Regions from separate parts of the Homo sapiens genome. Here all the other regions are linked to region 2. The links are contacts of gene promoters, found by promoter capture Hi-C in blood cells and fetal thymus (Javierre and others, 2016). All regions are on one chromosome and are shown on one strand. The core of a region is centred on a gene start or on the middle of the fragment in contact, and the rest is flanking DNA. Distances in the headings are between cores, read along the strand shown. Region 1 overlaps TRIM62 (tripartite motif containing 62). Region 2 holds the start of ZNF362 (zinc finger protein 362). Region 3 overlaps TRIM62 (tripartite motif containing 62).

What was found. The method cuts DNA at HindIII sites, captures the fragments that hold promoters and counts their contacts. A CHiCAGO score of 5 or more calls a contact.
Region 1: a fragment that was not itself captured here is called in contact with the fragment with the promoter of ZNF362 in region 2 in 6 of 17 cell types (total CD8 T cells, total CD4 T cells, naive CD4 T cells and 3 more); the score reaches 6.8 in total CD8 T cells.
Region 3: a contact is called between a fragment that was not itself captured here and the fragment with the promoter of ZNF362 in region 2, in 1 of 17 cell types (naive B cells). The highest score is 5.5, in naive B cells.

The regions. Positions count from the first base shown.
Region 1 is chr1:33,176,326-33,180,891 of GRCh38, reverse strand. The region is part of intron 1 of TRIM62 (tripartite motif containing 62); the gene reads left to right. It also overlaps a transcript of ZNF362 not described here. Among named protein-coding and RNA genes, the nearest start is that of TRIM62, 3.4 kb to the left of the region's middle. RefSeq lists a silencer at 1-74, enhancers at 157-326, 2,426-2,595 and a cis regulatory region at 2,510. The HindIII fragment of the contact is 3,860 bases long and covers 1,081-4,566 here.
Region 2 is chr1:33,254,378-33,259,093 of GRCh38, reverse strand. It overlaps ZNF362 (zinc finger protein 362), which reads right to left and starts at 2,602. Exons shown (of 9, transcript NM_152493.3): 1 at 2,440-2,602. RefSeq lists an enhancer at 1,852-2,146 and silencers at 2,612-2,671, 3,114-3,213. The HindIII fragment of the contact is 6,922 bases long and covers 1-4,716 here.
Region 3 is chr1:33,143,286-33,147,559 of GRCh38, reverse strand. TRIM62 (tripartite motif containing 62) reads left to right here. Exons shown (of 5, transcript NM_018207.3): 5 at 1-2,161. The coding sequence ends at 383. It also overlaps a transcript of AZIN2 not described here and a transcript of ZNF362 not described here. Among named protein-coding and RNA genes, the nearest start is that of TRIM62, 37 kb to the left of the region's middle. The HindIII fragment of the contact is 2,733 bases long and covers 194-2,926 here.

The sequences.
Region 1 (4,566 bases), core at 1,761-4,260, 79 kb after region 2:
AGGGCCCTATCAGGAGTAACGCGGGGCAGGGAGGGGCGGGGCCGCCGCATGGCGGGGCCGTGGGGGCGGGGCCTTGGGCAGTCCGGACCCTGAGGGATCTGAGACAGACCTGGAGTACCGGCTGGTCCGCGGTTAGGGAGAAGTCGGGGATGCGGATGGGATGGCGGAAACAAGTGAGATCAGAACTGGACCAGATACTGGGCTGGGGCAGGGTTGTGGACGAACCGGAATCAGAGTTGGGCAAAGGCAGGGCCACTGTCAGACTGAGGGCGAGGTCGCGAGGATGGGTCTGTATTAAACCGGGTAGCTGAGCTCTGGCAGGCTGGGGGTTCTGTGGGGGCGGAGACCGGATCAGATGTGCATCAGGACTAAGAGGAGTACGGGGGCTAGAATGTGCTGGACAGGTGAGGGTGAAACCTAATAGAGTGGTATAAGTTAGGGTGCCAAAGTGCTGAGAGGGCAGGTTTGAGTACCGAGGGTTAGGCCAAGGTGTATGAGGGGTTAAGACTGAGATCAGGTCCGGATACTCTACAACAAGTTTAGATTTAAGCCAGAGTAGAGGCCAGGTTGAGTGGGGCCAGGACTTAAAGGTAAAGATTTGGAGAATAAGGCCCAGATGTAAGGTGATTCAAGAAGGGAGGGGCTAGACCTCTAGGAGTCTCTAGAGGTTTTTGATGACCTCTTTGGCTCTGTCCCCCACATCAGGACTTTTGAAGACTAAGTGAAACGGTACATGCAGAGTGACCTGAGCATAGTTGGCATAGAACTCTAATCGGTCTCCCTTAAGACTTCCTGTCTTCACTGACAAACTCCTACTCAACTTTTATTGAGCCTTGCTCAAATATCCTCTCCGTGAAGCCTTCTCCAAGTTCCACTGGTCAAACAAACAAACAAACAAACAAAAACATTAGAACTGCATTTCCCCAAATGCTCTCTATTAATAAGTGTGGGAAATATAGTATATTTTTTATACCCACCCCCTTGGAGAATTTTCAGTGTGCATTTGCATATTAAAAGCTTAGAGAAATTTTGTTGCAAATAAATCTATTTTACTGTGTTTAATAAAATGGTTCCCAAGCTTACTTGGGCCTGGAATCCTTTTTTCAAGCTAAATCACTTAAATCCAGCAGCCCCATGTACCTGGCTTTGGGATACTAGTCGAGCACGTAGTTCTCCAAGGCCAGAGACAGAATCTTATTTCTCCTATCTATGGCCCCAAAGCCTGGTGCAAGGCCTGGCCCACAGTACACACCAATAAAGGCCAAATGAATGAACGAAAGAATGACCAACCCTGGCCTAAGCTGGACCACACTGTGGAGCGTTTGGAAGCAGAAGGTTTTTGGCTCAAACATTTTATGAAAATGGAGTGGGCTAACTTGGGAGGTAATGAGCTCTCTGGCCTCGAGATACTCAAACAGAAACTAAATAATTACTTTCCCCTGTATTGTAGGGGCTCCCAACCCCTCCACACACTAGTCTTTGAGTAGGCCTGCACCCAGCAGATGCCCATGGGCCTCAGGAGAAATGGCCCATGTTCACCATCGCTCCTTCCCTGTCCCTTTTATCTCAAAACTACAACTGACTCCCTTCCAGTCTAGCTGTCTGAGGATGAAGGCCCCATCAGAGGGTGAGCAAGGGCCTGGGCCTCTGGGAGCCTGCACAAGGCTTGGCCCTCCACCCCCAGAGCCATCGTTTTAGGCGCTGCTGCTGTCCATCTCCCCGTCTATGGAGTCACATAAGCAGGAAGAGTTTGAGGGGACTCTGTCTGAAACCATCTGTCCAACCTCTTCATCATGTAGGAATGGAAAGTGAGGCCTGGAGAAGTTATGTGACTTGCCCAAGGCCACACTTCCAGACAGTGAGAGAGCCAGGGCTATAGGGCACAGCCTGACCCAGATCCCTCTTCTCTGATCTCTCCCCTCCTTGTCTGACCTTCTAGCCTCTGCTTCAGAGCCTTGGTTCTCCTGTCTGCAAACCAGGAAATCCAAATTACTGTATGTTGGGCTTCTGTACTCTATCCCATGACCTGGGGGACACAGGAGAAATTGAACATGTATTACCTACAAATATTATTGAAATGCTTCATTATTGGGTGAAAAGTAAAACAGGACTGCCACTTGCTTACTCTCTAGTGCACTGTTGTGGGGTTGGACATACTTGGGTTCCAAACCTGCTGTGGGCACTGTGTGCACCTTGGTGAGTCACTTCATGTAAACGCTGATGCTCTGTCTGTACAATGGGGTCAGGATGCTTCCTTCCTACCAGGACTTTTGTGAAGCTGACCTGGGATTAACCTGCTATTTGAGGTTCAAAGGCACACAGTACGGGCTGGAATAACATACAGCCCACCTTTTCTCTTTCTGCCTGTGAGAGCTCATGTGCCCAGCTGAGTGAATGCCCAGACTCTCCTCTCTGGCCCGAGAAGGAGGCCTTGCTTTAGTGTGTCCTCTGGGCTTGGCAATTTGGTGGCAGAGAAATCTGCCTCCCATCTAGAGAGGATGTGCTGCTGGGTGAGATTCAAGGCACCCTCCACCCCACCTGCCTCTCCCTCCATATGGGGAAGGCAAGGCTTATTAGCTATTTATGCAGCAGAAATAAGGCTGAACCCACCCTCACATCCCCTTCTCTCCCAGCAGCTGATGGAGCTGGGGCCCTTCTGCAGAATTACAGACTCAGAGCCATGCAGATGATCTGGTGCCACATCCACTTGACAGATGGGGAAACAGGAGAGGGAGAGGGAGGAAGGGAACTTGCCTAAGGCCTCGAAGCCAGAGGAAGCTGGGCCTATACTCAGCTGGAGTCTCCCAACACCCTACCTAGCAGTTGGCGTGCAGCTTTTACATTTATTATAAATCCTTGAGGCATCAGAGCAGAGAAATTAAGAGCCCTGCTTTGTACCCAGGTAATCTCAATCCTGGCTCTACCATTTACTGTGTGACTTTGGGAAGATTATTTACCATCTCTGAGCCTTGGGTCCTTCATGGACAGCATGGAAGTAATTATATTAGGATTAAACAAGATGATGTTTATAAAAACTTAGTACTGCACTTGGCACCTAACAGCACTCAATAAATGACAGCTATAGTAGGTTACATCGTACTCGGCATTATTGACATTTGGGGCTAGATAACTGTTGTGCAGGGCCATCTTGTGTGTTATAGGAAGTCTGGTAGCATTCCTGGCCTCTACCCATTAGATGCCAGTAGCAAACTCCACCCACCCCGCAAGTTGTGACAATCAAAACCATCTCCAAGCATTGACAAATGTCTCCTAGAGTCAAAATCACCTCTAGTTGAGAAACCTGACCTAGAAAAGTCCCACTGAACTTTAAAACTTCAGGTCAAATATCACCTCCTCTGTGAAGCCTTCCCTGACCTACTAAGCACAATTGCTTTGTACTCCAGATTACATCACAGGGGTCAGATCCTGACATGCTGTGTGTCCTTGGTCACGTCACTTTGCTTCTCTAAGGCTCCTTCTCTAAGGTTCATCTATAACAAGAGGATATGATGTTCCTGGGAAGGATGTTGTAAGGGTTAGGGATCCTTTATCAGAAGTGCCTAGTACTGTGCCTGGCATAGTAGGCACCCCAAAACTATTTTTAAATGTCTTTATTCTGATTATAAAATTAACATAAGAAGCAGAGCTGTATAATGTAAAAGTTAAAGTCCCCCCATAATAATACCCCATGAAACATGGCAGGAGTTACTATACAGTTCTAAGGATTTTTATGTAACCTGTGGGTGTGCATGTGCGTGTGTGTGCATGCGTACATGCATGTGTGTGTGCATGTGTGTGCATTTGTGCATGCATGTGTGTGTGTGCATGTGTGTGTGTGTGCGTGTGTGTGTGCATGTGTATGTGTGTTGGTGTCTTCCTCCCCACCTCCACTGCTGAGTACCTGGACCACTGAGCAAAGTGGAGGGAAGGAGCCCATTTCCAAAGAGTTCAGGGCTTCTCAGCCAATATTCATCGAGCCCAGTCTGAATGCCTGGGACTGCACTAAGGGCTTTTCTTGCATTACCTCATTTAATCTTCATAGCACCCTGTGGGATGGGTATTGTTATCTATTTCTTCTACTGATGAAGAAACAGACTCAGAGGAATTAAGTGACTCATTTGGTCACGCAGCTGGTAAATGGCAGGGCCAGGATTGGAAGCCAGTCTGACTAGGCCACATACCGTCCCTGAGCTACCTCTGAGGGCTGGGTAATTGTCTCCCAGCCACCCTGCCTGTCCTGTATTGACAGGGCTAGGCCATCTGTGCCAGCTGACGCCCCGAGGGCAGGTGGTTGGGACGTCATCTTGGTCAGAGCAGACGTGGCATCCGGCTCTCTGGCCGTCTCAGGTTCCTAACCCCCAGAGAGGGGATCCGATTCAGTCTCAGCCGCCCCCTCCAGGCCTCATGTGACCATTGGAGCCCTTCCCAAGGCTTCCTTCATGCCAGAGAAGACAGCAGTGGATCAGCCTTGGACGCAAGCCCTGGTAGGCAGGGTATGGTGATCCAGTGACACCAAGGCAGCCACCCAAGGAGGGAGGGGGCTGGGGGCTAGGTTCAAATTTCGGC
Region 2 (4,716 bases), core at 1,353-3,852:
ACCTCCTGACATCTGAGCCTTTTCAGTCTGACATTCTTTGGGTGGGGTGGGCCTCTGGATGTTTACACAGTCACTGGGTTCAGCAGAAGAATTAGAGAGTCCAAAACCTAGAAGAGTCCTTCCCACAGCACCAAAGTCCACCTGGGAAAAGGCCAGGCGAGGAGCCTGCAGGCCTGAATTTAAGCCTCCTCTGCCACTGTTCAACCTCTCTGAGTCTTGGTTTCCTTATAATGAGGTTCATAATCCCCATTAGGACAATTTAACCCTAACTGAGTTTCTGGGAGAACCTGATGTGATAATCACCACACCATACTGTGAAAACTGTGAAGTTCAATTCTCTCAGGAAAGATTATGATGGCGGGGGTAGGAGGGGGTGAAGGGATCGTGCTGTCCCATTCTAGTCCAGTTCTGTTCAAAACGGATCTTCCAGGGGTCCAGGCCCGTCATGGAGAACAGTGGAGGGAGCCCAGCAGTGGAAGCCTGAACACCCAGGTCCCGGTCTCAGTCTCCTTCTACCTGGTAGCGTGACTTCAGGCAAGTCACTTCCTCTCTCTGGACCTCAGTTCCTCCATCTAAAAACCACCTGGCTTGGTACCCTCTGGCCAAGACATGCCATGTTCCACAGCCCTGAACCCCTAACCCCAGCTTTCAACCCCCGACTCTGGCTTCTGGGAGCTCACTCTGTCTAGTGGAGCCAGGACACAAACCAGGAGTGAGACTAGAAGGGTCTCCCCTCCAAGAAATGCTGGGGTAGGGGACACATGAGAGGCTAGGCCCAACACTGCCCCAGTGCCTTGGACAGCACCAGTCACCCCAGACCTTGTGGGCCTGGCCTTCAGATCCCCCTCGGCAGCCTGCGGAGCCAGCAGGCCCTGACCTGTCCAGCAAGATACTTCAGGAACTTAACCGAAGTCCAAAGTGCTTCTACCTCCCGGGCGTAGGGCAGGAGTGGCAGAAAGGAATAAGAGCATACTACAGGGGTGAGGCTCACACCGAGGAGGTCTAGCAAACCAGACTACCTTTCCTGCCCCTTCCCTCAGACGGGACCCACTGGGCCGCAGGCCTGCACCCAACCAAAAGTTCATCATAGGGTGGGGTCGGGGAAGACATTACCACCAGCTGCCACCTCTGGGGGCAGGAGGACCACCAGGTTGGGGAGGGGGCTCTCCAACTGCAAAGGGCCAAGCTCACTTGCCTCAGGGTCCAAGGGTCACCCCAGGGCTTGGGCGAGATTCCAGCCTACACGGGGGGTCCTGGCCACCCATGAAGGAGACAGGCCCACTGCCACACACACAGCTCCCGAAGGTTCCACACTGCTCGAGGGCAGGGTGGTGGGACAGCAGGATTATTTCCTCATGCCAGGGGTCTTTGCTGGAAATCCTGGACCCATTCTGAGCCCCTCTTGCCGGCCCTCTCCCCCAGATCTGAGGATCTAGCTCCTTACAATGCCATGTTTATAGAGCCCCTTCCAAATAAATGTTTCCCAGTTCCCCCAAAACTCCCATCCTCAACCCTCCACATCCGCCCCCCCACCCCCATCCCGCGCAGCTCTGAGGAAACCGGCAGTTAACTTTTCCCAAAAATCCTGCAAAGGCAGCTGGCTGGGGGAGAAATGGGCCTCGAGATCCTTTCGCGGCATTTCACCGCCTTCCAAAAAAAAAAAAAAAGAAAGAAAGAAAGAAAGAGAAGCAAAGCAAAGCAAACTTTCGGAGTTAACTTTAAATTCCCAGCCCTCCCCCCTCAAATCGCCCGGCAGCTTCCCTTTTTTTTTTTCTTTAAAGTGCAATTGCATTGTGTCTCACCTCCCCGAAAGGCTCGCGGCTCTCGCCAAAGAAAAGGAAAAAAGCCAACCCTTCGGGTGCCCCCTCTGCTTCCAGCCGCCTCTCCCACATTCTCAGACAGTTTTATTAAAATTTTCAGACAAAAGAAAAACAAAAATGGCAGCCTGGCTTATTTTTAAAACAGGACAGGGACGCCATATTCTGCAGATCTGCAAAAAAAGGGAGAAATCCGGCACTGGCTGCTCCACCGGGCCGGCTGCAAAGTGCGCGAACCGCGCCGTTTGCAATCCGTTTATTTGCATTATGCCCCATGAATCATTGTTTACCGGAGAATTGCAGCAGGGTTTGAATAGCCCGGCTTAAGAAAACACACACACACGCGCGCGCACACACACACACGCACACACACTCGGAGACCAGCCCCAGACACGCCGCGGGAGACACTTCCTACCCCGCGCGCCCCGCTGCCGCCGCCGCCGCCGCCGCTCTGGGCCGGGCCCGAGGCGCAGGCGGCCCCGGGCCCTCGGAGCGCCCCGGCCCGCGCTGACAGCGCCCGCGCCCCGGCCCGGCCCCCGCCCGCAACTCGGCGCAACTTTCCCGCGGGCAGGCGCCCGCCGCCGCTGGGCCCGCTCCCCGCGCGCCCCGGGCCCGCACGGACCTGGCTGTGCTGGCGGCGCCTCCGGGACGCGGCCGCAGCCCCGCGCCCGGCGGCCCGAGCAGGGCCGGGCTGGGGCTCCGGCACAGGCTCCGGGCTCGGGCTCCGGCTCTGGCTCGCTGCGGAGCCGCGCGCAAACCTTCCGGGTCGCCTGCTGTTCACTTCTGGGTTCTGCAAGCGCCGAGGCGGCGGCGGCGGCGGCGGCGGGAGGCTGGGTCTGCAGCGCCGCGCGGCCCCCAGTGCGCTCGGCGAGCCCCCGCGCCAGGCGCCCGGCTCCGGGGGGGCCGCGTCGGGCCCCCGCCTCTCCGGCTGCGCAGCCCGTCCGGCCCCGGGGGCTCCCGCGAGTGGGCAGCGCCGGGCGCTGGCGACTGCGCGAGAGGGGAGGGGGCCGGGCGGGGGGCGGGGGCGGGCCGCGCGCTGGGGCCCCCACTCGGGCCCCGGGGCCTCGTCTCGCGCTCGCCGTCGCCGCCGCCGCCGCCGCCGCCACCGCCTGGCAAAGTTGCGCTGCGCCCCCCGCCCGCGCCGCGCCGGAGGCAGAGCCACAAAGGAACTCCTCGCCCCCCTCCGCCCGCCTGAGCCGCGCGGGGAGGGCACCGGCGCCCGGCCCTAGGACAGCCCCTTCCCCAGCGCGGGGGCTCCCGGGGCCCCGGCGGCCGTGGCCATTGTCCTGCCCAGGCCCGGCGGCCGCCTCGCCACCCCACTCCTGGGTGATGGCAGGCTGGGGACTTGGGCCTGGCGGGCCACGGCCCTGACCAGGCCGAGCCCGCGCGGTGCCAGGCTGCCCCTGGGGGTCTCCCTCGAAGACGGCCGCCTGGAGGGGACCCCCAGGATGGACCCTCACCCCTGATAACGACCTGCTCAAAATCCAGGCCGATTTTTTTTTTAAGACGAGGACATAGGGGTGGGGAGTAGAAGTTTGCACAGGCCCAGCCACCCCTCCCTAGCCCTAGGCCGGATCCCCGACGGATGGGGCGGCCCGAAGCTGGCAGTGGCTCCTCTCGCAGAGTCTATCAGAGGTGGCACCGGCTGTCCCCCGGCTCCAGACCTCAGAGCCATCTGTGTGACTCCTCCTCCCGCCTCACCCTCCCCAGCCAATCAGTCACCAAGTCCTCCTGATTCGGCCTCCCGAGCTGTGTCAGCTTCCAAACTTACACTTCTACCTGAGGAGGCAGCCGGTTCCAGGATCCCTTCACCGGCTTAGATTTCTATGGCATCCACCACCCCCCGACCGCTGGGCCAGGATGGATCAGGGCTGGCCCTGCCCTCAGGGAGCGCACAGTCCCCCGGGAAGGGCACAGAGATAAACAATCATCTGCCAGCGTTTGTCCTCCAGGAAGCATTTCCAAATTCAGTAAATATTCATAGAGGACCTAGTAAACATCAACCACTGTTTTTAATAGCTGGTTGGCTGGAGCACAGCTATTAAAAAACTGGATAATGCCCCTGCCCTCACGAAGATTCTAGTCCAGCACAGGATGGCAAACACTGTGAGCAACTCGAAGACAGGGCCCATAGGGACTGCTTGTTCTCAATCCCCAAGCACAGTGCCTGGCACAGAGCAGGGGCACAAGAAATCTGTGTGGCATGAATTAGTTGGAATGTTAAAGCATGGCGGGAGAGCACAGAGGAGGCCACTCTTTCCTGGAGAGGTGGAGAGGGCTTCAGAAATTGGCTCTGGGGTGAGCGAGGTGGGGAAGAAAGGAAGGCCTTCCAGTTTCCAGAAATGACGATAATCAGAGGACCAACCCATTGTTGAGAAATTCAATGAGATAATAAATTAATAAACGGGAGAGAAGAGACAAATTGTCTGTGCAGAAGAATTCCAAATAATTTATGTAGACAATCAGGGAGGGGGAGCATCACTCCCTACTCTTTAGGAGTAGGCTGCAGATAGTGACGTCCTCCCCAAGCGCACAATATGGAAAGGGAGAGGAAAGGAGTAACTTTACAGGGAGAGAGCTGATGACTGCTACTCAGACAAGTGATCAAGGCCAAGATCAACAGCCACAAATCATGTTGATATGTGCTTGATACTATGTGATGAAAATGACACTTTACCTTTGTGGTCTTCCTCCCAATAACCCATAACCCCAGCCTTGTGAGAAAAACAGACAGACTCCAAGAGTGGGCTATCCAACAAAATTGCTGGCTGACCAGTACCCCTCAAAACTATCAAGGTCATCCAAATCAAGGAAAGTCCGAGAAACCATCACAGCCAGAGAGGAGCCTAAAGACACGGCCGGGTGCAGTGGCTTATGCCTGTAATTCCAGCACTTTGGG
Region 3 (4,274 bases), core at 311-2,810, 110 kb after region 2:
GCGTCCACTACTGGGAGGTGGTGGTGGCGGAGAAGACCCAGTGGGTGATCGGGCTGGCACACGAAGCCGCAAGCCGCAAGGGCAGCATCCAGATCCAGCCCAGCCGCGGCTTCTACTGCATCGTGATGCACGATGGCAACCAGTACAGCGCCTGCACGGAGCCCTGGACGCGGCTTAACGTCCGGGACAAGCTTGACAAGGTGGGTGTCTTCCTGGACTATGACCAAGGCTTGCTCATCTTCTACAATGCTGATGACATGTCCTGGCTCTACACCTTCCGCGAGAAGTTCCCTGGCAAGCTCTGCTCTTACTTCAGCCCTGGCCAGAGCCACGCCAATGGCAAGAACGTTCAGCCGCTGCGGATCAACACCGTCCGCATCTAGTCCAGGCAGAAGGAGACCACAACCTCCTGGGACCACTGCCACCTGCAAGAGCCCTGCCCAGGAGATAGAAGACCTGGACTCCAGCCCACCGTGGCCACTGGAGACCTCAGGCCAGTTGTTTACCCTCCAGCCTCCAGTCTGTAAAATGGAGGTTGCATTCCCTACTTCCTAAACTCTCTTCCAGCATCGATGTTCTGTAGCTCTGACCTTGATAGGGATACAGCTTTGATCCAAGGATGTGACATGGCTTCTCCTCAGGGCAACCCCTGCCCAACCCTCATCCCCATCTTCTCAGGGGCAGGGGACTACCTTCCAGTGTCTCCCTCCAGCCCAGCCCTGACCTCAGGAAGTGTCAGAGCATGGCCAGTAGTTGGCAGCCCGAAAGACACACAGCACCCTCTTATGTCCCATGGCCTAAGACTTACCCCTGACCAAGCTAGTGATGGGCCATTTACCCTTGACCCCAGTCCACAGTGGTCACAGGTAGTACCTGGTCCTAGGGTTGCCTGAGAGCCAACCTCTCCTGCCACCCCCACACCAAGAACTATATGGTTCCTACTTCTCCCACTGATCTGCTGGTCAGTGATGATGCTGTGGCCTGTGGAAGGCACCTGGTAGTTGAGTCCACACATTATAGTCATGTGCCACCACCTTCCTGCCCACAGGCCGAGGGACAGGGTGAGGGTATACCCAAAGCTGATGCAGAGCCCATTAGCCTAAAAGCAACTGCAGGACAAGCCTCCCTGGATGATCGAGGTCCCCAGTAGCTCTGAACAAGAGTCCAGCCAACCCTCTTCAGCCAGGCCTCTGTGACCTGCTAGGGTGCAGGAGGCTTCCAGAAGCAGTTGTTGTAATTAGGACCCAAGCACTGGGAGGGGCTGTTGGCTGGACCCCTTGTCAGACTTGGCATCTATCTCAGTTAGGATCCTGCTGCAGAAAACAAGAGCCACTTGTAGCTGGTTTAATTAGACAAGGATTTACTACCTGGCCCCTGGTGGCTTGCAAAATTGTTGGAAGAGCTGGAGAAGCAGACTCTGCTGAATTTCCAGGAACTCCCAGCGCCAGATTCATCATGTCTGTTGTGACCAGGAAAGCTGCCCCCATCTGCAGGAAGCCACTATGCCAGAAAGCTGCTGACTGCAGAACTAGGCTCCCTCTGCCACGGTCCGTGCCAGCCAATAGATGTCCTGAGGCCTGCCCCTCTCCCACTTCACTCAGTTCCCAAATCTAAATTTTTACAAGAGATTCTGTTTGGGGGAACTTAAGTCAGATCCAGAACCTTGGCTGCAAGGGAGTCTGGGAAATGTCATTTCCCTAGAAGGAAGTTAGGGTGGGTGGAGCAAGCCCCACCTGCGTTTTTCTGCCACAGCATCCAATCGTGAAGAACTCGGGAGAGGGTGGAGTCCACATCTAGGGTTGTCCTGCCCCTTGGCTCTATCCCTGCCCAGAGGTGGGAACTGGAGGAGTGGGCTGCAAGACTGAGCCTAAATGTCTCCCCGGCCTTGACTTTTCTTTCTAGTCCTGGGGCCTAGATTCTGCACTTGGGGTCTCTGACACAACACACCATCCCAAAGTAGCCGGAAGAGCTAAACACAGGGGGTTCTTAAAATGGCTGCCCCCGCCACCCGGGCCTCCCTTGGGCAAAAGGAATTGTCAGCCCTACCCCAACCCTTCAACTACCAGAATCTGGGCCACCCCAGCAGTATTTTTATTTAAAATGTTGCCCATTTTATGAGTTATGATCAATTTGTATTAAATTAAAGTTACAGATGTCAGTAGCCAGTTCCATTCATTTTGACAAACACACAGGCCCACCCAGCTCTGTCCCAGGCAGTGCACACACATGAGCATAGCTAATCCACAAAGCAGCCCGGCTGGGTAAATGGTATTATGCTCATTTTACAGAGGAGGAAAATTGAGGTTCAGAGAGAAGCCAAGACTTACCTGGGGTCCCATATCCCATGCTGGCAAGTGCCACACCACAAACCTGTCCAAAAACTTACCAGCCAGGGAAGGCTGTCAGTCTTTACCTGGAGGAGAGGTGGTGGTAGTCTTGGGAGCAGGCAGCAGGCAGCTCATGGGGCAGTGGCAAGAGCCTGGTCTCGGGAACCACACAGACCTCAGCTCAAATCCAGGCTCCATCACTGTGTGACTTTAGAAAAATGACCACCCTCTCTGGGACTCAGTTTTCCCACATGGAAGATGAGGATACCAATTTCACATAATTTATTGGTAAGCTGTAAAGTGCAGTGCACTTAAGGAGGCCCTACCCTATCCCCCCAGCTGCCTCCCAGAGTCAGTGCCTGGAGCTGTATGGGTTTCCTGAACCTCTGGGCTGGCTCTGACCCAAGAAGTCTGTCTTTCTCCTTATGGGCTGTGACGGGTATGGAACCACCTAGACCAGGACCATCCTGAGGTCCATCCCACCTCTGACTGATGAGGAAGCATCCTGGCTGGGAGTTAGGACAGGCTCTGCATGTGGACACACAGGCTGTGCACACTTAAGTGGAAAAGACTGTCGACTAAAGAAGAAATATCAAGCTTTTAAAGAATTAAAGTTCACTTTACTTAGAAGTCTTACTGAGTACTATAGACAGGCCTAGAGCCCAGCAGCGGCCCTTTAGAGAGGTTCTATCAGTCGGGCCCAGGACAGTATTTTAGCCCACTGCTTATATACAGGTGGTGGAGGTTTAGTACACGCAAAATCACATCACACTTGCTCAGAAGTAACATTAAAGCCACCGGGCGCAGTGGCTCATGCCTGTAATCCCAACACTTTGGGAGGCCAAGGCAGGCGGATCACCTGAGGTTGGGAGTTCAAAACCGCCCTGACCAACGTGGAGAAACCCCGTCTCTACTAAAAAATACAAAATTAGCCGGGTGTGGTGGCACATGCCTGTAATCCCAGCTGCTCGGGAGGCTGAGGCAGGAGAATCTCTTGAACCCGGGAGGCGGAGGTTGCGGTGAGCTGGAGATCGCGCCATTGCACTCCAGCCTGGGCAAAGAGCGAAACTCCGTCTCAAAAAAAAAAAAAAAAAAAAGAAGTAACATTAAAGCGGAATCATATATCAACGTTTGCATGTAAGAGTGTGTCTGGGCTATAGATTACAGAGGCATAATCATGAATGCCATCAGACACTATCTTCTGTACAGGAAAAGGCAAGGACTAGGTTTATTTATCTTTTAAGGAACGTAGTGACTCAGGCAAGAGACATGGGGGCCATGCCCACTATTCTGTCTTGTCTCCAAAGTATCCCTCCACAGAGCCGCACATGGTCACAGAGTCAGAGGCTTGTGAAATTATGCTGGCAAACAGAAATGAGGGAAGTAGCTTCTTCCATTTGCTACTGTGTCTCCCAGGCCACTGGGTGCTCTCTGCAGTGTGCAAGGGAGTACAGCACCCCTGGGAGCCCAGGACTGGTGTTGGCTTTCTGTTAAGTCATTTTCACCCTAAGCCATTCTTGGCCTCCTCACCCACAGAATGAGGGAGGTTAGGCTGCAGGCCACAGGTGGATCTTCATCTACAGCCTGGAGCTGGGGAGAGGGAACCACCCCAGTCATTGACTCGCCTGGGTTTCTAGGAAGAGGAATGAGAACGAGGATGGGAGAGGGGCTGTTGGCAGGGGTGGGTGGAGAGGTCTCTGATTGTCTGATGGAGAGCAGCCCAGTTCACAGGGAAGTGACTGGGGTGATTCTGAGACTAGAGTATCCCAAGCCCTCCCCCATCCTCTCAGATCCCTGTGACTGCTCTAAAACCACGCCCTCTCATTTTGGCTCAGTGGATCTGTCTTTGCTCAGCCTTCTCCCTCTGGGGTCGGAGCACCCCCTCCATGGCGCATTCCACCTTCTCCCCACTCAGCCTCAGCAGCAGCTCCAAGAAATGCTGGCCAC